Regions from separate parts of the Homo sapiens genome. Here regions 1, 2, 3, 4, 6 and 7 are each linked to region 5. Evidence: promoter capture Hi-C in 16 types of primary human blood cells and fetal thymus (Javierre and others, 2016). All regions are on one chromosome and are shown on one strand. Each heading gives the region's core, a stretch centred on a gene start or on the middle of the fragment in contact. The rest is flanking DNA. Distances are from core to core; before and after follow the strand shown. Region 1 holds the start of BRMS1L (BRMS1 like transcriptional repressor). Region 2 holds the start of RALGAPA1 (Ral GTPase activating protein catalytic subunit alpha 1). Region 3 has its middle 92 kb from the start of SEC23A-AS1. Region 4 has its middle 130 kb from the start of SSTR1. Region 5 holds the start of DORIP1 (dopamine receptor interacting protein 1). Region 6 overlaps MBIP (MAP3K12 binding inhibitory protein 1). Region 7 has its middle 150 kb from the start of LINC00517.

What was found. The method cuts DNA at HindIII sites, captures the fragments that hold promoters and counts their contacts. A CHiCAGO score of 5 or more calls a contact.
Region 1: the fragment with the promoter of BRMS1L here is called in contact with the fragment with the promoter of DORIP1 in region 5 in 2 of 17 cell types (total B cells and total CD4 T cells); the score reaches 7.2 in total B cells.
Region 2: the fragment with the promoter of RALGAPA1 here is called in contact with the fragment with the promoter of DORIP1 in region 5 in 9 of 17 cell types (naive CD4 T cells, naive B cells, total B cells and 6 more); the score reaches 29.5 in naive CD4 T cells.
Region 3: a fragment that was not itself captured here is called in contact with the fragment with the promoter of DORIP1 in region 5 in 4 of 17 cell types (activated CD4 T cells, non-activated CD4 T cells, total CD4 T cells and 1 more); the score reaches 9.9 in activated CD4 T cells.
Region 4: a contact is called between a fragment that was not itself captured here and the fragment with the promoter of DORIP1 in region 5, in 3 of 17 cell types (naive CD8 T cells, activated CD4 T cells and naive CD4 T cells). The highest score is 6.8, in naive CD8 T cells.
Region 6: a contact is called between a fragment that was not itself captured here and the fragment with the promoter of DORIP1 in region 5, in 2 of 17 cell types (non-activated CD4 T cells and naive B cells). The highest score is 7.2, in non-activated CD4 T cells.
Region 7: a contact is called between a fragment that was not itself captured here and the fragment with the promoter of DORIP1 in region 5, in 1 of 17 cell types (naive CD4 T cells). The highest score is 6.1, in naive CD4 T cells.

Annotation. Positions count from the first base shown.
Region 1 is chr14:35,824,643-35,827,960 of GRCh38, reverse strand. BRMS1L (BRMS1 like transcriptional repressor) reads right to left here and starts at 1,623. Exons shown (of 10, transcript NM_032352.4): 1 at 1,303-1,623. The coding sequence starts at 1,444. RefSeq lists silencers at 1,063-1,232, 1,483-1,582. The HindIII fragment of the contact is 11,609 bases long and covers 1-3,318 here.
Region 2 is chr14:35,808,002-35,811,511 of GRCh38, reverse strand. It overlaps RALGAPA1 (Ral GTPase activating protein catalytic subunit alpha 1), which reads left to right and starts at 2,217. Exons shown (of 42, transcript NM_001346249.2): 1 at 2,217-2,782. The coding sequence starts at 2,677. RefSeq lists enhancers at 2,071-2,170, 2,007-2,567 and a silencer at 2,251-2,490. The HindIII fragment of the contact is 1,366 bases long and covers 901-2,266 here.
Region 3 is chr14:39,009,261-39,012,523 of GRCh38, reverse strand. No RefSeq gene overlaps it. Among named protein-coding and RNA genes, the nearest start is that of SEC23A-AS1, 92 kb to the left of the region's middle. The HindIII fragment of the contact is 1,742 bases long and covers 792-2,533 here.
Region 4 is chr14:38,071,598-38,075,146 of GRCh38, reverse strand. No RefSeq gene overlaps it. Among named protein-coding and RNA genes, the nearest start is that of SSTR1, 130 kb to the left of the region's middle. The HindIII fragment of the contact is 8,133 bases long and covers 1-3,549 here.
Region 5 is chr14:44,895,698-44,899,191 of GRCh38, reverse strand. DORIP1 (dopamine receptor interacting protein 1) reads right to left here and starts at 1,917. Exons shown (of 5, transcript NM_001017923.2): 1 at 1,624-1,917. It overlaps LOC101927418 (a long non-coding RNA gene), which reads left to right. Exons shown (of 3, transcript NR_110050.1): 3 at 116-284. RefSeq lists silencers at 1,263-1,582, 1,603-1,732 and enhancers at 1,099-1,598, 2,223-2,272. The HindIII fragment of the contact is 3,873 bases long and covers 1-2,258 here.
Region 6 is chr14:36,311,397-36,315,036 of GRCh38, reverse strand. It overlaps MBIP (MAP3K12 binding inhibitory protein 1), which reads left to right. Exons shown (of 9, transcript NM_016586.3): 3 at 122-346; 4 at 429-525; 5 at 3,013-3,078; 6 at 3,312-3,464. Among named protein-coding and RNA genes, the nearest start is that of MBIP, 7.4 kb to the left of the region's middle. The HindIII fragment of the contact is 7,085 bases long and covers 1-3,640 here.
Region 7 is chr14:38,050,944-38,054,169 of GRCh38, reverse strand. No RefSeq gene overlaps it. Among named protein-coding and RNA genes, the nearest start is that of LINC00517, 150 kb to the right of the region's middle. The HindIII fragment of the contact is 1,194 bases long and covers 1,000-2,193 here.

The DNA of each region.
Region 1 (3,318 bases), core at 374-2,873, 9.1 Mb after region 5:
CCCAAGGTTTTCACGCTCTTTTGAATAAGCCCCAAACTCTGGCCCTTGTACTTTTTCTTACATCCCTCTCCCTGCAGGGATACCCACCACCCCAAACCAAATTCTACTCATTCTTCAAGATAATTAAGGTAATCCCACCTTCTTCAGCTAGGCTTTGTGACCACCCAATATTGAAACGATTTCCTCTGCCTCTGAATTCCTACAGCAACATTTAGTTAAGCATTCATTTGGCAATTTAATCAAGTGGTGACTTATGATAGCTTTTTAAGTGAGCCCAGATAATAACTATTTATCCCTCATATTGAGTACTGTCCAGTGCTGCACAAAGAAGTCACTCATAAATATTTTTGGATGGCTGATTTACTGATTGAAATTATATCCTTCCATGGAGATTTGCTTTGCAAGGGAAACATGAAAAGAGGGCATCTGGGTGATACTAGGCTGTCATCAACCTATCATCAATGCTTCCTTTACATGACCAAAATCAGGCCAAGACAAAGAAGTCAGTCTCATCTCCATCATTTGAATCGAAAGAAAATAATCCCGGTAATCACAAATTCCATTTCACTTTAGAATAACCATTCCTAAAAGTTTGCAAAATTTATTTGTAGTGTTAATCTGCCCTCCTCCCCCACCCAAAATAATTTAAAACAGCCCAAAGTTAGAAAAAACTGAAGGGAAGAAAAGACTTGGAGAATTTTCAACGCTGCCAAAACTCAGCCAATTTATAAGCATATGAAGATCCAAAATGAGCCCGAATGTTGGTCCCTTCCTCTCAGTCTTGCAAACTTCAGGGAGCTACTGAACGGGACCGCTCTCAAGTTAGCCCCCGAAAAGACACTGATGTAAAAGTGCTGACCGGCAAGTTGACTTGCAAACTGAGGTTAATTACTAAGCCGACCCTCTGTCCCGGCAACTCACTTGCGCTGAGAAGTGAGGGTTGCAAAGGTGAAAATAGGGAAAGAGGTCGGTGGGCTGGGGAGAGGAGGCATTTCCAGTTTGTCTGCTGCGGGAAGTTGTCCGCCTGGGCTGGTCGCTCCAGAGCACCACCGGGGGCAGGACCACGCCGCGTTTGGGAGCTGGACAAGCCCAGGCCCGCCCCGCCCCGCCGCCGGGACCCATCAGGAGCCAGACAGCGCCCAGCGACCGGTCAGGGTGCAGCCCAGGGCCCAGAGCCAGTCTCCGCCCCTTCCCTCTGTCCCCGCCCCGCTTTCCCAGCAGGACGCAGCCGCCTGGCGTGCGGAGAGCGGCCTGTCGCGCGCTGGGCGCGGGGACTCAGGGTCCCAGCAGTGGGTCGCGCACCTGAGCTATCTCCATCCTCGGAGACCGACGAGCTCTCAGTGTCCTCGTCCTCGGAGCTGCTCCCCTCATTTTCGGCGTAGTCCACCTCCATCTCATCGTGATGGTTGGTCTCCTTCTTATCCCCTCGGGAATGGACTGGCATTTTCCAGCCGCGCCGTCGCTTTCCACTACCGGCGCCCAGCCCGGCCACCGCCGCTTCAATGAAGGGCGCGCGGAACGCCCCAACCCACCCAGCCACCGAGCTTGCTCGCCCCCTTGGCTCCTCCCCGCCCCCGGCCCGGGCCTCACAACCTAACCCGCAGGCTCTGCGATGGGAGCTCTGCCATTGGCGGAGGCCTTCCACCGAGCCAGAGGGCGGGGGCTTGCCCTGCTCTGGTACGATTGGTTGCCCGCAATTACGACGCGGCCTTCCGATGCTTGCCGGGAGTTGTAGTTCGTAGGTCTCAGACCTGCAGGGGCTGCACGCTTCCATCCCTCGGCAGCCCTGATCACTTCTTCCTTCTGGACTTCAAGTCCCACAAGGCACGAAAGCTGACACTCTGGATCGCAGTTTATAAACTAAACAGAAACAGATTGTGCGAATTTAGTCTGTATTTATCTATTTCCCGCCAAGTGATTGTTTGACCTGCCTGACCATCAGAGATGTTACTGTTAGATGTGAAAATGTCTTTTGCCTAAAAGGATCTTTGCCTGCTCATTGAGCCTGGGGAACTGGAGAACCATCTGTTTTACTAAGCACCTTTATTACCTACCATTAATAAACTGTTTTATTTAATTATTAACTATAGACGATAACTTGCACTTTCTGTGTTGTGCAAAAATCTTTAAATTATTCTTGAAACTTTTACAATACAGAAGGTAAGGAAGTTTTATCTTGGCATTTTCAATCTAATATTTTTGGCATTTATTTTTTACCAAATGCAGTCGGAAAATGCCATCAGTCCTGATTTAACTTTAGTTTTCAATGAAAAATACATACTTAACCAGATGTACTTTCTCAAAAAAAGGGTACATAGCTCCCTCTCCCTCTCCCTCGCCCTCGCCCTCGCCCTCGCCCTCTCCACGGTCTCCCTCTCCCTCTCTTTCCACGGTCTCCCACTGATGCCGAGCCGAAGCTGGACTGTACTGCTGCCATCTCGGCTCACTGCAACCTCCCTGCCTGATTCTCCTGCCTCAGCCTGCCGAGTGCCTGCGATTGCAGGCGCGTGCCGCCACGCCTGACTGGTTTTCGTATTTTTTTGGTGGAGACGGTTTCGCTGTGTTGGCCGGGCTGGTCTCCAGCTCCTAACCGCGAATGATCCGCCAGCCCCGACCTCCCGAGGTGCCGGGATTGCAGACGGAGTCTCGTTCACTCAGTGCTCAATGGTGCCCAGGCTGGAGTGCAGTGGCGTGATCTCGGCTCGCTACAACCACCTCCCAGCCGCCTGCCTTGGCCTCCCAAAGAGCCGAGATTGCAGCCTCTGCCCGGCCGCCACCCCGTCTGGGAAGTGAGGAGCGTCTCTGCCTGGCCGCCCATCGTCTGGGATGTGAGGAGCCCCTCTACCTGGCTGCCCAGTCTGGAAAGTGAGGAGCGTCTCTGCCCGGCCGCCATCCCATCTAGGAAGTGAGGAGCGTCTCTGCCTGGCAGCCCATCGTCTGGGATGTGGGGAGCACCTCTGCCCCGCCGCCCCGTCTGGGATGTGAGGAGCGCCTCTGCCCAGCCGCGACCCCGTCTGGGAGGTGAGGAGCGTCTCTGCCCGGCCACCCCGTCTGAGAAGTGAGGAGACCCTCTGCCCGGCAACCGCCCCGTCTGAGAAGTGAGGAGCCCCTCCGCCCGGCAGCCGCCCCGTCTGAGAAGTGAGGAGCCCCTCCGTCCGGCAGCCACCCCGTCTGGGAAGTGAAGAGCGTCTCCGCCCGGCAGCCACCCCGTCCGGGAGGGAGGTGGGGGTCAGCCCCCGCCAGGCCAGCCTCCCGGACGGGAGGGAGGTGGGGGGGTCAGCGCCCCGCCCGGCCAGCCGCCCCTTCCGGGAGGGAGGT
Region 2 (3,510 bases), core at 968-3,467, 9.1 Mb after region 5:
CTCGGCCTCCCAAAGTGCTGGGATTACAGGCATGAGCCACCGTGCCTGGCCCTCACAAGCAATATTTCAAAGGTATATTTCTGGGTTTTATTTCCATGATAATTATGTCTGCTGTGGGGAAGACTTATCTTTCAAAGAATTTTAATATTTAAATCAATGGGAAGAGAAAAACCAGGCAGTGGGATGGGTGTGCCATATGTAAATTACATTATACTAGTTTGTTTTGCAATGGTGTTTTCATTTTTTCTCAGGTATACCAGCCATATAATTATTTTTAACGATATGTTACATTTTTATTCTCTAAAATTATGTCACTCATTTGCCAAACATTTACTGAGTACTTGCGCAAGAGAAAGGAAGGGACAGTGACATTCGTTCTTCTATTCGACACAGATTTATTGAGCCTATCTTGCAAAGAGCACTTTGCAAGAAGACTGGGATACAACTTTAGACAATCTATACAGTCTCTGTCCTCAGGGAGTTTACAGTCTCATGAAAGAGAGAATCTGTAAACAGTTACACAAATTACTGTATTTAAATTCTATGAAGGAAAGGAATGTTATGAGATGTGTCATTATAGATGTAACTTTCAATACTTTTCTCACCTAATTATCACAATCACTGATGTAGTTTACAAATGAGGAAAATCAGGCTGAGACTGAACTACATGCCAAGGGCCCGAGAGCAAGTAAGTCCTTGCAAGTGAAAAACAGAATGTCTAATTTAGGTCTATGTAATTCTAAAGATCATGCTTGAAAACATTGTATTATTGCCTAAATTTCACGAAACTGTGAGGGACAGACCTTATTTTGATTTTATTAATAAGAAAACTGATGCTGAGAGGAACTAGAACTAAAATCTCTTGAACAATCCCCTTATTTTTCTATTATGTTATAAGCTTCCTCAAAACATGTATGGCTTGTAAGTTTGATGATACAAACAAACCCTACATGTAGAAACTGAATAAATTTTTTGTACTTTAAAAAATATAGGATTGTTGTTGAAACAAACTACCATTAAGCAAAGCACTATATTTTAACATAATTTTGGCAAATGTCTTACATCTCTCTTCTTTGCTGATTTTGTTATTTTTCTATGTTAATCACATATTTCATTGGACAAGTCTATTGCTATGGGTGAGAACATAGAAGGAAACAGTTCAAACAAGCAAACTCACTCTTTATCAAATTATTTTGTGGAGGAAATGTTCCTGGCCAGGCGCAGTGGCCTCACGCCTGTAATCCCAGCAGTTTGGTAGGCTGAGGCGGGCGGATCACTTGAGTCTAGGAGTTTTAGACCAGTTTGGGCAAAATGGCGAAACCCCGTCTCTACAAAAAACACAAAAATTAGCTGGATGTGGTGGCGCGCACCTGTGGTCCCAGCTACTCGGTAGGCTGAGGTGGGAGCATCACCTGAGCCTGGGAGTTCGAGGCTTCAGTGAGCTGAGATCACACCACTGCACTTCTGCCTGGGACACAGAGACCCTGTCTGGAAAGAAAAGGAAAAAGGAAAAAAAAAAAAAGGGTTCCAATAAAAATTTCAATTTATGTCATTCAGAATTTCACGGATTTTTTTCAGCTATTGCAGATTCTTCAGATGACTCCATCAATGTAATAAGAACCTTGAATTCTTCTTTGCAGAGGAAAAACTGACAATATATTCATCTTTATGTGGGGTGCAGATGGGGAAAAGATTTTTAAAAGCACAATAGAAAAGGAAAGCAAGATTACTTTTATTTAAAAAACCTAGATACCTCTGCTTAAGCCTTTCTGTTGTCAAGTTGTTTGCAGCAAAAAACAGGGATATTGCAAATAGAAAAAATATGAAAGAAATCACATACATAGTGCAGGAAATATTATTAGTAATAGATTTAGGACAGAATAAATTGCCCAACTGTAACTTCGTTTATCTTTCTGCTAGAGGATCTGGTGGCCACAACAACTTATGCACATTTTCAAAGATAAATCATGGACATATTTAATAAAGATTACTTCTCTTTGCTTATTACTATCATTTGGCTTACAATGGAGCACGCAGTAACTACCTTCCTTGCCTTTCTTGAGATTCTCCTTTGGCTGCTTACACAGGAAACCAAGGCGGGGAGTGCCACGGGTGATCTCATGCTGGCATGACGTCAAGAACTCTTGACGTCAGAAGGCGGTTGCCACGGACACCGTTCGCCACCGACGGCAGAGTCGTGAAACCCCATCACTACCACACTCGTCTCCGTTTCGGCCTCTGCAGGGTGTAAGCTGCTAAAGAAGCTTCAACCTTAAGGGGGCCTCAGGGAGAGAGTTGTGCTCCTGCCGCCGAGAGCTCCACCTTCGTGGCTCTGGGTCCGGGGCCCCGGCCTGTGGCGGCGAGCGGCGGCCGCTGGAGACGAGCGGCGGCGGCAGGCGGCCAGCCCGGGTCTGCCTCGCTCCGTGCAGGGCCGGGAGAGGGATCCGCCATATTGGAGCTGGGGCCGAAGGTGCCTTGGAGCCGCGGCGCGAGGCGGGTGGAGGTGGCGGCCCTGGCCTGGATCGGGAAGGAGTCGGCTCTGCCCTGGCCCGCAAGGCTGGGGAGCTAATGAGCCTCTCTGGCTAGTCTCCTCCCCGTCCACTCCCTCCACTTTCTGCCGCCGGGACCCGGCTGGGAGCCGGCTGTGGCAGTGGCAGTGGCAGTGGCAGCGACAGGATGTTCTCCAAGAAGCCGCACGGGGACGTGAAGAAGTCCACCCAGAAGGTGCTAGACACCAAGAAGGACGCACTGACTCGCCTCAAGCACCTGCGCATCGTCATCGGTGAGGAGCGAGGGGTGGCAGCGCCGAGGCCTGGGTTGCCCGGCCTTCCCTCTCCTGGGAGCCCCTGCGGACTCTCTCTCGGGACCTGGCGCGGTGCAGGAGAGGGCAAATCGTAGCCTCTGCGGAGACGCGGGAGGGTGAATAATTCGGAGAAGCGAAAACTTGGCAGTTGGCAGCACTGATTACTGTTAACACAGTAATCTAATTTTGAGTTAATAGTCTGAACTTATTTTTTAAAATTGGTATTACTCTAAAAACTTAGATCTTTAAGACTTTGTGGGGAGACCTGGCGTTGTGGATAATGGTGTTTATAGGATATGTTTGCCAGATGACTACTGCCAACCCCACCCAAGTAAAAAGAAAAATAAAATCCTCTCTCAGACAATATAAACCTTAATCTTTCAAGTTTCTTGGCAGATGAAGACAAGGAGGTAGCAGTTACACCTCTTTGGGAAGTGGGCGGTTCCCAAAAAGCTGTGGGAAGGAGCCCCGCCCTTTTGTTAATGCACCTTGTTCATCACTAGTCATTTAGAGGGAGAACTATTATAGGTAGTTTAACTCATCCTTTGCTTCTCGAGAATTGTATATAATTCTATTTTTAATTAAAAATATTTTTTTTATCGTCTGCCCTTAAGTTCTGTTTTGCTGGTAGACCAAACAGTGCTCTAAGTTTTGAATATAATGTTAATCGACTCTTTTGAATACTTAGTCATTTGGTAGGCTGATAA
Region 3 (3,263 bases), core at 413-2,912, 5.9 Mb after region 5:
TCAGTAAATGATACTGGTGAGATAAACATAGGCCAGATCTTGAAGATCCATGTAAGTCAGATGTGTTAGGCTGTTCCTGTGTTGCTATAAATAAATACCTGGGGCTGGGTAATTTATAAAGAAAAGAGGTTTGATTGGCTTACAGTTCTTCAGGCTGTGCAGGAAATATGGCACTGACATCTGCTTGGCTTCTGCTCAGGGCCTCAGAGAGCTTGTACTCACGGTGGAAGGCAAAGAGGGAGCAAGTGCCTCACATGGTGAAAACCCGAGCAAGAGAGGAGGAGGAAGTGCCACACACTTTTAAATAACCAGATCTCATGAGAACTCACGACTGTCACAAAGATAGCACCAAGCCATGAGGGATCCCCTCTTGTGACCGAATCACCTCCCTTTAGGCCCCACCTCCAACATTGGGGATTACAATTCAACATGAGATTTAGACGGGACAACATCCAAACCATATCAATAAGGTTAAGAAGTTTAGATTTTCTCTTGAAGGCAATGAGGATCACATGGCAGAATAAAGCAGGGAAATGTACAGAATGGAGAAGCCTGAAGAGTGTCAGGCTGAATGCAATCAACAAGGAGGTGTCTGGGAAATACCTGTCATTTAGACACGAGAGATGATGTTCTGAGGAGGCCTGTGGAAGTGATAGGATTTAGACAAGAGGGATGATGTTCCGAGGAGGCCAGTGGAAGTGATAGGATCTGGAGGAGAAGGCTGCTCTGCTTGGAGTCACCTCTCTTTGGCTAGAAAGCTCATTCTTAAAGGTACCTTCCCAGTGAAAGCTTCTCTGAATTCCCATGACTTGCTCTTATGGCTATCTGTACACAGTCAATATTACACGGTTTCTTTGTTTGTTTTGTTTGTTTGTTTGTTTGTTTTTTTTACAGTATTGGTCTTTCCTGTTAGAATGTGCTGCCCATACTGAGGGCAGTTATTTTTGTCCAAAGTTTTTGCATTCCCAGAACTTATTACGTGGCTTGGCACATAAAAGGCTGCCAAATATTCGTTGAATAAATGAATTAAAAAATGGATGGGTAGTGGGTTATCTTGTGAAATATTATGGCCAAGCCATTGCATTAAAAATCTCAAGTGGACACAAATGGAAGACTCCAGGATCCTGCAGTGCAGACAACGGGCATTGCCCCAGAGCTGCCATGTCAAGGATGTCAAGTCATGGAGTTTGAACACTAGGCATGGGCACTTTGGCTTTTTGAGTGAAAAAAGTTGTTTCTGGGTTTTAATGTGTTTAGGGATATAAAGAATCAGGGACCCCTCTATTCTATGGTCCTCTGACCTGATGGACTGAAGTTCCAGTGTGCCACCATGAAATGCAAGGGAAGTAACAGGGAGCCACATCCACCCACCTGCATCTCAGATAGACATCCTCCACACGGCCTATTTGCTGTTTGCATAGTAGACTAAAATAAAAGCAACTTTGAACTACTTGAAGTCTCTAGGCTTGCTTATCCTCAAAACCAAAGCAGTTTGCTGTGGTCTAGCCTAGCTATTCAACTACATATGCACAGCCTTTGTTATTGTTAGAGTTTTATAATTTTTGCTAGGCTAACTGGTGTGAAACGGTATTTCATTATTTGATCCTGATTTATTTAAGTTTTAATCTTTTATCTAAAAAAGTTCTCATATCTGGATTCCTGATGTGAATCCAGTAGTCTTCTATGAGTACTTTCTATCTGCTTCCTAATTAGATTCAACAGAAGTTTGTCTCTTTTATCAGTTCTTTCAAAGAACCATCTTTGGGGGTAATACATCAGTTTTAATATTTTTCTATTTTCTTATTTATTACTTTCTTCTTTTCCTATTCATTAATTCCTTCCTCGTGCTTACCCTTGACTGGTTTTATTGCTTTTATTTGTTTGTTTTTAGAAACAGATCTTGCAGAGTTTCCCAGCCTGGAGTGCCATGACTATTCACAGGCACAGTCATGGAGCCCTACAGCTTCAAACTCCTTCAAACTCCTGGGCTCACGTCATCCTCCTGAGTAGCTAGGACTATAGGCATGCACCATTGCACGTGGCCTTACTGTTTTCTTATAAGTTCTCAGTTCATTATTTTGACACTTAAAATTGCTTAATATTTAAAGTGCTTACAATTTTTTTCCCCTGAGTGCCTCATTTGTAATATCATATCCTTTTATATGTACTGCAGTGTTCTCATTTTGATTATTTCTAAATTGATTGTAACAGTAGTTTTGATTTTTTTCTTTTACTTAGAAGGTTTTTAGAAGGTGGTGCTTGACTTGTGGGATACATAATTTGATATATATTCATTAAATAGTATGTATTTTTTAAAACATTGTGTCGTGTTTAGTTTTTTCTTATTGGATTTGTCAAGGTGGAGACTGTCAAAATCTCCTATTATGACTGAGTTACTGAAGACATATCCTTGCATTTTTAAGAAATCTGTATGTGTTTCAATACAATTCTAGTCAGCATGTAAGGATTGGACTGTCACTGTGATACAAAGAAACCTTAATATAAAATGATAGTATTTGCCCTATGTAAAGCTTTTGGCCTTAAATTCATTTTAATTTGAAATTAGTATTTTCTTTTCTGTTTCTCTTTTGTTTGCCTTTGTCTTTCATATATTTTTCCTTTTCTTTTACTTTTATCCCATTTATGGCATTTTATATTATAACAGCCTCTTAAAAACAGCAGTTTGAACTCAATCCGCAGCCCTTTGACTTTAATGCATTAGGTCTTACTTATCATCTTGTTTCAAGTTTTGTTTTGATAGTTCTTTGCATTTCTATTGTTTTGAAGTATGGATCTTATTTGTCCTTCTTTGGAGATAAACACACATTTAAATTTTGTTACAGTACTTAGTTTTCAAAAGCACTTTTTTTTTTTTTTTTTTGTTAACTGCAATCACCCCCCTATTTAATACCTGTTGGGTATAATCAGCACTATATTTGGTCTGGGGAGTTTGGAAAACGGAAAAGCTATTTCAGCTTTCTTAAATGATTTAGGAGTGATGCAGAGTATAAAATCTCAAATTCAAAGTGAAGCTGAGTCATTCCTGGGTCTGGAGATGCCTACTATCTGATTGAAGAAATCAAGAGTACTGCAGACCACTGGGACCTGCCTAGGTGGAACTCAGCACAACTCTGGTGCAGCTGGAAAGAAACATTTGGGAACATTCAGATTCATAGTTTTTGGGTATAACTTGGAGGATATTTGAAAGCACTTCAACGGAATTGAACACTCAGGAGGTGGGGGACAGATGTTTACAGGCCAGT
Region 4 (3,549 bases), core at 744-3,243, 6.8 Mb after region 5:
TACCTGGCCCAATTCATTTCATTAAAACAATTTATATAATGTGAGCCAAGACAATGAAAATATGCATAAAGTATGCATATACATAGGTGTAGGAGATATCAGTTTCTTCTCTCTTTTTTTCATGTTGTTTCTATAGTAGATCGTATTATAGTTCAAAATATCGGCTGCCACTTCCTGTGGGAAGATTATACTTTCTCACTGCTTTGATGTCAGTTTTGGCCATGTGACCTCCTCTGTGCAAGAAAATGTGAACAGGAGTGATATGGGTTTTTGCAGAAAGAATTAGCATAAAAGGTCTGAGTCTGCTTGGCTTAGAAAGACCTGTGTGCAAGATTGGCCCTCAGCTGGAATTGGGGAGCTTGAATTTCAGGAAGGGTCTCACATTTCCTGATAAGGATGGCTCACAGCACCTAAACTGTTTGTGCAAAGAATAAGGCTTATGCTGAACCCATGAACCCTTTCTGGGAGTCCAGAATTTGGGTACATGCAGGACAGAGGATGCCTATTGTGATCATCCCTCAGTAAAAACTCTAGGCATTGAGTCTGTCTTGTGAACTTCCCCAGTAGATGACATTTCACACATTGTTACGATTTGGCACTGGAGGAATGAAGCACATCCTGTGTTACTGCACTGGATAAGGACTCGGAATCTTGTACCTGTTTTCCTCCAAAAAACTTTGTCCCATGTACCTTTTCCTTTGCTTATTCTACTTTGTATCATTTTGCTGTAATAAATCATCACTACACAGTAATGTGCTCTGAGTCTTTCTAGCAAATCATGAAGTCTGCCCTTTCAGGAAGTCCTTCATGACTCTTTCTCTTTGGTATGACAAGTGTCACTCCTCTGGCTACAGGCTACTCTGCCTTCTGGGTCTCAGAGTGAAGATGACATGACAGAGCCATGGCCAACTTGGAGTGGTCTAACATAAACAAAAACTAAAGCTCACAAGTTGTAAGCCCCTACGATTTTGGAGTTTCCATTACCACAGCAAAACCTAGCTTTTCCTGACTGACACATAATTCTGGTGATACATTAACACAGTTCTTTTGTGCTCCCAAAGCCTTTTCTCACATTATTTACTTTGACCTTCCCAAAACTTTATGAAGTATGGAAACCAGATGATATTTTTATGCTAGAGACTACACGGACCTTTGTTTCATTCTCTAATATCATGTGACATTAAATAAAAATAAATAATTAATTAAATCCCTACTCAATCCCTATTCCATGGATGCATGGTTCTATGGAGTTGTCCATGTAAGAAGCAGACGAATAGCAAATGAGTCACGGCAATTTGGAGCTTTCAAATTCAAAACACAACTTTTTATTGTGGTTCCTATTAGTAATGACTGGTTTGAGGTTTTGGTTTTTGTTTCTGTTTTTTTTTTTTTTTTTTTTTTTCCTGTCCACAGCACCTCAATAGATATAAATGTCTTTCCAGACCTCTGGTTGTCCATCAGTTTATAAACCTGCTCTGGTTAATTAATAATCGTTTCTTTGAGGTTAATAATCTCCTAGGACTACCAAATTAGATGTGATTTATGCCACATAACCTATATTTTAAATCATATTGAAATAAACATTGCCTTCAAATTTAGTGAAACTCAATGGATTAATCCTTTATTACCATTAAACAAATCACTCCAAAATTGATTGGCTTAGAACAAAAATAAACACTTATCATCTCACAGAATTTCAGTGGGTTGAGAGTTTGGGAACACCTTAGCTGAGTGGCTAAGGACTCTGGCTCAGGACTTGACTTGTCCTCAGTTTGCAGTGAAGATCCCAGTGGCCAAGGCTGCAGTCATCTCCAGGCTTGACTAGAGTGGGAGGAGCTGCTTTCATGGTGGCTATTTGCATAATTGACAAATTACTGCTGCCTTTTACAAAGAAGCCTCAGTTCCTTGCCACATGTGTTTTGCCATAAGGCTGCCCAAGTAGCCTCTAACATAACACCTGGCTTTCCCCAGAGCAGGTGATCCAAAAGAAAGTAAGACAGAAGCCACAGTACCTTTTCTAACTTTATCTTGGAAATCATACACCCTCACTTCTGGCACTAGAATACATGTTACTAGGTCCAGCTTACACACAAGAGAAGAGAAATTAGACTCCATCTTTTGAAAAGAAGAGTGTCAAAGAATCTGTGAACATATTTTAAAACCATCATATCCCTTGTAGGTAATTATTTAATACTATTGCTGTTCACCAATATGTTCAGTGGGGAGCCACTTCTGGGCACTCCCCTCATGTTTGGGTAGGACCATGTGACCAGAACTGGCCAAGAGTTGTGAGTGGACTATTCAATAACTATTTCTAGAAAATTGGCTCTCCATATGGAAAAAGACAAAAAGATATTATTTTATGTCCATTGAAAAAATGCAAATGAGTTAAAGAAGAAAAATCAGTAATATGACATTTTTACAAGAAAACATGTAACATTTTATGCCCATGACAAAGGTAGGGATTTCCTAAAGAAGACACAAAAACCATAAACTATGATGAGATATCATTTCATCAAATTTGCCACAAATTAATAAATCTGAGAGCACAAACTCTTAACCAATTAGCTATTGCTGGTGTGACTGTAAATTTGTACAACCATTATGAAGAGTAATAGAACAAAATCCAGTAAAATCTAAAATGTGAATAGTCTCTGAGTAAGAAATTCCACGTCTGGGCTCATGTTCTTTAACTTGGAGAAGCACAAGGGATGTGTACACAAGGATACACATGCAAGGATGTTCACTGAAGCACTATTTAAAGTAACGAGAACCTGGAAATAACTTTACCATCTCTCAAATGTCATTCATACAATGGAATACTATACAGCAATTAAAATAAATAAGCTACATCTGCATTTACCAACATGGATAGTTCTCAAAAATCAATAATGAGTGAAAAGGCAAATTGCAAGCTGGCACTCATATGATTCCATTTATGTGAATTTTAAAATATGTGAAACAAAACCATATAGCATTATTGAATAAATACGTTTGTAGGAGGGGTATTTTTTAACTTGCATGCATTTCAAAGTTGAGATAACTTCTCCTGAAAAAAATAGGCGAAAGAATTGGGAGTTGGAAGAAGGGTGGTTTGTCGTATCAGGAATATTTGTTTCTATTTTTTAAAAAGAGATCTGAATTAGGTATAACAAAATGTTACCATCTGCTTACTACTGATGATGAATGTTATTGTTATCTTCTACAATTTTCAGTGTCTTTGGAGAATTTCATAGTTAGACACTACAACTTTAAGAAAACCACTGAATTAGATTATCTCAATTTTTTTTATATTAAAATTTACAGTTCTAATGAGGGGAGGGATAATCCCTAAATCATGGTGGGTGATTTGCAAGATTTTGAGCTTTTTAAATTAACCTGCATTAGCAGCTCCTCTGAGATGAACTCTGTATATGACATGCCAAAGTCACATATCCAGAGCAGGACTTGCTGATGACTATGGCCCAGAATGGTCTCAGGCCATCCAAAGTTCTTTCTGTTTATGACAGAAAAGAGAGTCCCATTATCTCTATTCTGGAAAATATCACT
Region 5 (3,494 bases), core at 668-3,167:
TATATAGCGCACATACTTTTGAAAGAATGAGTTCTTTTTACAATTGTATTGAAAAAACTCCTTCACTTTACTTGGGACAAGCAAATAAACTAACAACATCATATTGTTTTCCGAGGTTACTTTTATGGAGAAGTATTGTTATGAAAAAAGGGAGGCATCTGAGGAGTGGAAACAGAGAAATGAGTGACTGAGATCAGTGTCTTATTTTGACCATCTTTTCCAAGTGCTGCATCCTCCCAAACACAACATGAACTCAACACTTAATAAAGCTGCAGTCCTACGTGTTTTATTTGTGTAAGAAACTAAGTCCAAAACATTCTGCAACGCGAGTAAAAATTCACTTCTGCAATATATTAAACACACATGAACACAGTGTTTTCAGTTTGAAGCAAGATACTGTGGACTCTAAAATATCCAGTAACTATATTTAGTATGAAGAGTGGATGTTTATATCTAGTTGGCCAACACATTGATTCTAGTCATCCACTTAGGAAGAAGAGGGTGTGGCAAATCTGCAGCCTAGGAAAACACAAACTCAGTTTCTTCGTAATAGATACTGATTCGTTTTGTTTACAAAGATTTTAAAAAACAGTTATGCATTCAAATACTTTAAAAACGAAAATAACTTTATGGTTTGATTTATTTCCGTTGAATTTTAAAGAACTTTGTAGCAAGGTTTAAGATTGCTTAAAGAGCCTGAGTTCGGATTCCTAAAATAGTGCATTGGGAAGGAAGCATAAATCTCTAGGATATTTTCTTCACATTATCTTCAGACATGACCAAATGAAGTGTAACTACCCTTACACTCTAAGAGAATTAAACTATAATGACATATGTGGCATGAAACTTTAGTCTTTCTCTGGAAAAAACGGGAGGAGGGAAGGTTTGGAAGAACTAGAGGATACTAGTTTCATCATGAATTTGGTGATTTGTTCCAAAGTAAATTGCAATAAAAATGAGGGGTGGGGAAAAATGATGGAAAGATAGCTGTGAAGAGCTTTACTTAAAATTGTCTTAGCTGTTTAGCTAGGAACTGTAATTAGAAGGACTGGAGGATGTATTCCGCTGGCTTTATTCTCCAGGCTCTACGGGCCCTCCAATTTGAATAAACCTGGAAAACTCTCCTGACCTCTATTTCTTTGACAAAACATCTTTCTTTCGTGGTGACTTCCAAGGGAGGAAATTGGTACCCCAAGCTAGCCGTGAGGACCCCACCACATGCCCAAGGCATTGAACGCCAGACTCCCTAAGGACTCAGGGATTCTAAAAGTCCCCTCTCAAATCAGCGCCTAAAATACGCCTGTACAGCCACGCGCTACCGCTCCCAGCAGCGCGGGACTTCGGGACAGGGACAAGGCGGACGCTAGGCGTGCGCCCCCGGGGAGCCCCCACGTTCCGGCCACGCCCACCCTGGCCCTGGGCAGCCGCGCCCGGGAGGCCTGGCACCGAGGCGGGCGGGTCCCCGAGTTAGGGGCCCGCGAGTCGGCTGGGCGCCCCCGCCTCTGCCCGGGCAGTGCCCCGCCGAGTGCTCAGAACTGCGGACAAATAGGCTGGAGGGCCGGGCCGCGGAAGGCGTTCCCACACCGGCCAGTCTCCGTCCACCAGGAAGCAAACTCCTCGTACCTCCCTGGGGACCGAAAACTGCCGGTGCCGCCGCACCCGTCGCCGCCGCCGCCTGCTCATGGAGAGCCCGGGCTGCCGCCGCCGCCGCCGCCGCCGCTGCCTCATCTATGAGTACCGCCGGCTGTCTCGGCCTCCCCCGGCGTGAGTTCTGGGCTCTGGCATGGCCTCCATGGCAGCCGCCGCGGCGGGAGCCACAGCAGCTCCAGCGCCCAGGCCCAATCTCACTGGACCCACGGAGCCAGGACAGTGGGACACGTCGCTTCTTATTACGGAGGAAGATTCGGCACGACCTCCGCCCCCCTCCCCCCAACCCCCCCGTTTTCAGCCGCCTGACAGCGCAGCTGCGCAGGCGCGAAGACGCCCCAGCCTAATGTGCGTGTGTCGGCTGTGTATACAGCATCCAGATTCGCCCAATGGGAACCAGGATCAGGTGTGGGGGGCGGGACCTCGCAGAGAGGGGCGGGGTTCCACTGGTAGAAGGTGGGTGGGGAAGCCGGAAGTGGGCAGAGTTTGCACGGAGGCGGAGCTTTATTGGCAAACCTGATTGGCTTTTTGAGGTTTGTACCATTTTAGGACTTGATTTTAGTTTGCTTCTGGGTCTTGTTTTCTCAAATTCTTAACCTAGAAAGAAAGCTTTGTTTTCTCAGTAAATTACGGTTTTTTAAGCGTTTAAGTATTTACTTAGAAAACAGTTGAATTGATCTGTTAAATGCCAGCTTTAGTGTTCAAGTTAATTATTGGCCAATATACTGTAACTTACAGTGGAAGTTAACCCCATTTTGAAAAATTAGATTGTTTTAATTCCATTGTGAAGTTGAAAAAATTGGGTTTTGGAGATAATAAGGTCCCACACAGCAAGTGACGGAGCTGGAAATTACAGTTAGGACAACTTAATGCTAGTTTGTGGGCTCAACCACTATTTCTGTTTATTAGGGCCGAGTTTTTGTATCTCCCGTAAAGAAGCAAGGCCCTGTATGGCTCTGCATCTGGAGAACACAGGCCACCCTGCAAAAACTACCTCTCCTTGCAAGTAGGCATGGAGATCTGGTTGAGATTTTCCCCATCCAGCCTTTCAACAAATAATGAGGGTCTGGAAAGTTAGCTCTAACGTTCAGAACACGTGAGGGCTAATGAGAGAGCTCAAGGCTATCCTAGTAAATCAGTGTGGTTTTCCGTCACAGGCTGAGCCTGGGAGAGGCTGGATGCCTTCTTGACCGGTGTGATGGTCGGCCAAAGCTATGGAGGGGAACTTCCTCATGGATCTCTCTAAAAAAGTCTAGAAATGGAAGAGAGACTTCCATTTCTTGAGTTTTGGCTCTGCCCAAAAAAGAATAATTAATAGCTCTGGCAAAGCCTGCTCTTTTTAGTTTCCTGTTTTTTCTTATTTCTTATGGTATTTTATAGATGAGGAAACTGAGGCTCTTAGAGATAAACTAGTGTGTTGGAAAACTTGCAAAAAGTTCACTCTCAATATTAATCCTCTCCTACAGGTAGAAAAGCCCTTTAAAAATGTTTGTAAATGTGGATTATGTGTTTAATTATAAATCTCTCACAAGACATGGAGTTCATTTTATACTGATTAGGTCATTCTCTTCCTGAAAACAGCCATAGTATGGTGGATGACACCATTTCTGGAGAATAGTATTGAGATTGCTCATTAAACTCTGCCGAGTCTCAGCTAGATGGAGGAAGCATGGATTCCTTGAATACTTGGATAACTCACAAACATCACTGAGGCCTTTAACTGAAATTTCCATTCTGCATCTTTTCCACCGTCTTCAAAATCTGACATCTGAGTTGTAGGGTTTTTTTAGATATATTTACTGAAGTATAATTGGCATAGAATATATAGAGCATACTTAAAGTGTATA
Region 6 (3,640 bases), core at 520-3,019, 8.6 Mb after region 5:
TATATTTATTAACTGATATTAAGTATTTCATTTACTTAGCAGAAATTTATGTAAATATATTAAGTGTGTAATTAATTTTGGTCAGATTGAACCTCAGCAGATGGAATTGTGTTGTTCTCAGCCTTTTTTAGCAAAACTTCAGTCTCCGATTAAAGAGGAGAATACAACTGCTGTTGAAGAGATAGGAAGAACAGAAATGGGGAACAAAAATGAAGTAAATGACAAATTTTCCATTGGCGACCTACAAGAGGAAGAAAAGCACAAAGAAAGTGATTTAAGAGATGTGAAAAAGACACAGATCCATTTTGATCCAGAAGTAGTTCAGATAAAGGCTGGAAAAGCAGAAGTAAGAAGGTTTTTTGGCGGGGGCGAGAGGGTATTATTTTAAAAAATCTTATGTTTACACTGTTAAAACTTGTTGTTTGTAGATTGACAGACGAATATCTGCATTTATTGAAAGAAAGCAAGCTGAAATCAATGAAAACAACGTCAGGGAATTTTGCAATGTTATTGATTGTAATCAAGGTAACTACCTGGAAATTAATTTTCATAGGGTTTTAAGCACAATTTTTATAGTTGCTCTAATCTTTTATTTATTTTTTAAATGAATAGCTTTTAGAACACAATTCAATTTATTTCATGGATTTAGTTAGTAATTAAGACAGTAGAGTTTCCTTCTGCTTAATAATAGACTATATTGCAAACTGGTTTTCATTTTGGTTACACAAAGTAAATGCTAACATTAAAAAGTGTTTATCACAGGTGAAGATTATTTTAAAGTTCCTTTAGGAAATGAAGGTGAGGTACGAGTGAGAAGGTTGATCTATCTCACTAGTAAAAGGAACTGAGCTCTATGAATTTCAAACCTATACATGTACTGTGAAATCATGATGTTAATACGTAAGTGAACTTAGTAAAGTTAATATTCCTCCAGAGGGAGCAGTTTTCTCACTACTCCTGAGCTGTTTGAAATGTCCTGTGTCACGATACAACCAATTTATCATGAAGACCATGGTGTCTTGCTTTTTTCCTTTCTGCCATAGTGCATACATTTGCTGTTTTTCATCTGATTCACCTTTACCTCTCTACTTGATGCTATAGTACATTTACAAATCTGCAAGTATGCTGCAGAATACAAAATATTGCAATGCAGTGCCATAGATTATACTCAGGCACCATAGTAATAATCAGAACAAGTAGTTCTTAGGAAAAATTATGGAGAAGAGTTCATAATTGGAATGAACATGTTTCTTGTTGCCTCTAATATCTCATGGCTAATTATTATGAACATAGAATTGTCAGATGAACCTAGAAATGACTCATATCACATTGGTACACTGATTCTCTTAATGAAATAATATAGGCTGGTATTGGGTCCTGAATTTAGCTGTGTGCTACTATTAACATTACACATGTGCATCTCTAAATTTGGTATATTTTCCTGTTAGCTTTTCAGAACAGGTGCAACAATGGCAAAATCTCAGGTACTACAACCAACTACAAGCGACTATGAGAAAGGGTTTGTTGAGAGAGCAAGCACATGTGTCACTAATGTTATTCCTCTGTTCTCCCTGCTAACTCTATTATTATAAACCACCAGGGGATAGAAATTGACGAGAATTGAAATGCTCAGCAGGATTCCTTGGCCCATTCAATTCTTTGCTGGCTCAAAACAGTGCTAGCAAGAATTGCTGTGGAGAGTGACTAGCAGTCATACACTCACACCATGCTGAATTTCTCACTGATGGTCAGTTAATCTATATGTTTGGAATATAGTTCTGGAATGGATGATAGCTTCTTTTTTTAACCCTTAGCCCCATGAAATGGTAGGAAGAGAATGGAGAAAGGATGGCCCTTTAAGCATATTTTGAGGTGCCTCCAAAAAAAAAAAAAAGGAGGAAAGATGTCTATTTAGTCTCTAGATATAAAAGCTAAGTGGATTTGGAATTTTATGCATACTATTTGATTTATCAACAGAACTACTAAGGAAAGTTCAACTGAAAAAAATACAAATGTATTTTAATATGTTAGTGTGTTCCTTTTAATACCTACAAATTTAACCTAACTATAAGCAGTGGAATTTTTAAAAATCAAATTTCATAGGGGGGAAAAAATAATTTTTTTTAAAGAATCTCATTTACCAGCCATTTTTTACAAAATATTCAGGGGAATTTTACAGGAGATTTACTGCCAATGTGTGGCCTTTAAACATTATTTCAAACATAAGTATATATTATTACTATGTAGTATCGTATGTTAATATATAACAATTATGTTAATTAGTTGTATTATATGTTAACATCTTTCCAATTTTCCCCTTTTGTAATTTATGCATTGATACTTAATTTGAAAGAAACTACTTTTCAGCTTGGAAAAAAATAGGGACAAATTTTCACAATAGACCTTTACTAAAATGAAACTTTTTTGAAAAGTGGTGGGATAAGAAGAAGTAGATGACTTTTGTGATGAAGGGTTTTTAAAATGAGCACTGGAAATCTAGGTAGAGTGGAAATGTATGTGTACTTGAGGTTTTGAGGTCATCTTTGTGTGGAGTTCTGAAATAAAAATGTTAAATAATTCTTTTTGTTGGATGTTCACTAATTTGGTCATTAAAATAAAAAATGCTGAATTAAAAGAATTCTAGTAAAAATGATGAGTTTTATTTCTACGATGAAGTAGAATTTAAATACTCTATGGTAGATTATTTTCTCCAGTGGCCCAAATAGTGACATTGGTTTTCAAAATTGTATCAATTTGTGCCACTTAATGTTGATGGCTTTTCTGTATATAAATCTGAACATTAGGTAAGAATATTAGATATTATGATAAATTTTGACAGGTAAAGAAGGTCACTAAATTCTATCCTATGTGTGATAGTAATTTATTGTTACTATTATTTATTAAAATTATTATGAGTAAAATGTTAATATGAATTATTGAAAGTTTATTAAAATCTCATACATTTGAAGGGAAGAATATATTTAAACTTATATTTATCTAAATTCTCCTTAGAAAATAGTTGTGCAAGAACTGATGCGATTTTTACCCCTTACCCCGGATTTAAAAGTCACGTAAAAGGTAAGTAACCACCACATGACATCTGAGTCACTGACAGAAGTCTAGATTATTAGCAAAATGGAATAGAAATAACTTTCCCATCTAAATTTTATTTTAAAACAAAAACATCTTGCCGTCCTTCATACTTGTGGTTAGATGGTCTTTATGAAAAAAATATAAAGTGCTGTTAAGGAATAAGAATTTCTGATTTTTGAAATACAAATGTATATAGGCTCAAAAGTTTCTTAATTTAGTTTCTAGAGTTGTGAATACATACGGACCACAGACTAGACCTGAAGGAATTCCAGGGTCAGGTCATAAACCTAACAGCATGCTTCGAGACTGTGGTAATCAGGCTGTAGAAGAACGACTACAAAATATTGAGGCCCACTTGCGGTTACAGACAGGTAAGCAAAGTGCTAAGTGGCACCTCATAATGAACCTTTGCAAATGGTTAAAAAATTGCAGTTCATTTAGTCACCAAATTTTCATTTAGCTCCTAACATTTCTTGAACAGTAAGTGCCAGTCACTCAGGAAGTGTTATGTGTATGTCAATTCACTTAAAAGGTCATAGTACCCTTT
Region 7 (3,226 bases), core at 347-2,846, 6.8 Mb after region 5:
CCCCTGTGGATTTGATCATCACATTATTGAAATGCAATGTCCTTTGTTCACATCTAAGGTAGATATTAACATTTTTATTGAAAACCAAAGTAATTCACTTACTCTGTGAGTTTTCCACTGCTGTAAATGACAGAAGAGGCCCTCTCACCAAGTGCAGTCATTTCAGAAGCTTTATTACATTCAAGAAGGAAAAGGTCCAGGCTAAAATGAAGTTAACAGATTTGCTGAAGGGCATGTTTCTACACACCAGAGAGTGTTTCCCTTTCTAATACATTCCACTGCTGAACTCTGTAACCTCACTTTACAGAACTGCCTGTCATAAGGTGCTCAACACACTCTCAACTGCAAAACTCCAGATCTGAACTCTTTGCACTTTGGAGTGACAGTTTTTGGGAACCAAACCATTCCACACAAATTGCCTAGGGTAATGAATAATACTCTCCTTCTTTCACCTGGATATTTTTCTAAGCCTAGGAAAGGGCAGGCAAAACATGTACTGTGCTGAGTTCAACATCAAAATAAAAGGGCCAAACCACAGGGTATTTGCTGGCCTCTGGGAGCAAACAAATTCTATATGCATGACTCCTAAAAGACCCCTCTTAGAGACCTCCCTGCTCTATTGGTCTGAATTAAATAGTGGCAAAGATCCTCAGTACCACCACTACTTTTAAGGGACATTGGGCTTTTCTGAAATAGCCTCAGCTTCTAGAAGACCCTTAGATATTAGGCTTGTCTCAGAGAATTCCATTCAATATCAGCTAAGGTATCTTAAAAAACCTTTAGAAATCTTTTTCCTTTTCACTGGTCTAGTGAGAAAAGGATTGAACTGGAATTCACGAGAACTAAATTCTAATATTGCCAGATCCATGTCTAGCTTTGGACTTCTTCTCTTCTGAAACACAAGGTCATCAGTGGAGATACAATGGGTATAACAGTGCCCAACTAATCTAGTTCATCAAGTACTCATGAGGATCAAATAAGGTAATGTATAAGAAAGCTTCTGATAAAATGTAAATACTATGAGTCTAAATGAAATAGGGGAAGCCTCTCATGGCTGTATCATATTTCCCAATCCTCACTCCAAAACTATAAAGCCCTGGAAAGCAAAGAGACAGGTCCAGAGTCTCCTCTGCATCACCCACCAGGCATAACACATACCCTGGCAGCATGTGCAGAGGTTCTGAGCACCACCACTCAGAAAGGAGGAGCAGTGCCTGGCAAGGTTCTTGGCAGACACCTAACCAGGAGGTGCCTGACACCGGTGGTCCAGGAGAAACTTATGGAGAGAGAGGTGGCAAGGTCATGATCAGAATATTCTACTCTTTTCCTTATCTTTCCACTATTCCTGCAGACAATTTTATACCTCAATCCTTGACTTCAAAGTCACAAAGGTAAGCCTTTTCCATCTAATTTCTCTTAAATCTGGAAACCCAGACAGAATGAGTATACATTCAGCTTTTCCATAAGATAGTGAGATTACTCTTCAAATATGCACCATCTAGAAGACATGTGGGTTGCAGGAAAGAGAAGACTGGACTTTTCTTAAGGGACATTTACCAGGCATAAAGAGGATGTAGACTTCAATATCAGAGTTCACACTTCAGGGATTCTTAGGACAAGAATGAAACATAAGATAGAAGAGCCTTTGGATGGAAACTGCTTCCCTTGTAGCCCAAGGCAACTGTGGTTACTTTATGGGTTTGCTGGTAAAAAATCTTTCAGAAGAGCCCACATCTTCTCTTCAGATTCCTTTCATAAACAAAAGTGTAGATGCAATCACTGATGGAATGTTCTAACTTGGATAGTCACTAGAACCTCATAACCATTACGCGTAGAACTTTACTGTTTATCTATCTTGTCCCACACCTTCCTACCTCATCCTCACAAACCCAATTGAGTTCATTACCTCAATGAATGGAACCACCACATCCCAACTGCACAAATGAAAAAACATAAAATAAAATAAAAATAGGAGTCATCAACTTTTTCCTCAACCTCATGTTCCCAAATGCAGTCATCAGATTCTTATGATTTGACCTCCAAAATACATGTTAATTTCACATTCACTTCTCTTCAACTGCCATTTTAGTGAAGGCTGCAATCATTTCTGACTTTGTTTACTTGAATCTAAGTTGCCATTGTTTGTAAACTACATTATTATGCTTTGTATCACTGAGAAAGAAAATAAAAGCTTTCTGTTAATTTATGACATGCCACTAACGGTAAGATGAATCCAGATTTAGAGATAATAAAATGTGGGGGGAAAATTGTATGTCTTAAAATTAGTGAAATACAGTACTTGTCAACATCGTAACTGCTATCTCTGCATTTATTCATGTGGTCTTCCAGTTCACTCACATTACATCTAGAATGTTCTTTCTATAATAGGACACATTACTGTTTTTTGCTTAAGACACTTCAAATTATTCTCTATATACTCAGGATGAAATCGAAAACAAGCACAACATATAAGGCCCTGCTCGTTTCTCCAGCTCTTGACCCTCTGTTTTTCTTACTCTAAACTCCAGCCATGCATAGCTACTTCCAAGTTCTGAAAAGAAAGAAAAAAATAATGTTCTACTCAAACTTCAGATATTTGCACATACACTTCCCTCTGCTGCAATGATATTCTCAGCCCTCTTAACCCCTACCCAACCTTCAGGTCTCAGCTAGCTCAAATTGTCATTTCCTCCAGAAGCTCTCTCTATCTCCAGACCAGGTCTAGATGTCTCTTCTGTGTTCCCATAGTACTCTATGTTTAACACACTCTATGTTTAACATCACACTCCACAAAAATTCCCTTTCTGTTTGTCTCTCCCTTAACACTAGAGAGTCCTTGAGATAAGGGACGATGCTGTAACACTATCATATCCCAAGTGTCTCACATGGTGCCTGACAGCTAAATACTTGTTTAAGGTTGACAACACATGAGGAACCAATGAGAGTTTACCATCCAAACAAATACAATAAACCATAGGATTTTTCTTAAATGAATTCATAATTGTTCAATTATCTTCTACCTGTCAATTGCCAAATCTCTATAATAAATTTCTCATCAATGGGATAAATATGCTTTAAATTACAGTCATATTGTATTAGTCTGTTTTCACACTGCTCTAAAGAACTACCTGAGACTGGGTAATTTATTTTTTCTAAAAAAAGAGAGATTTAATTGACTCACAGTTCCACATGGCTGGAAAGGTCTCAGGAAACTTACAATCATGGC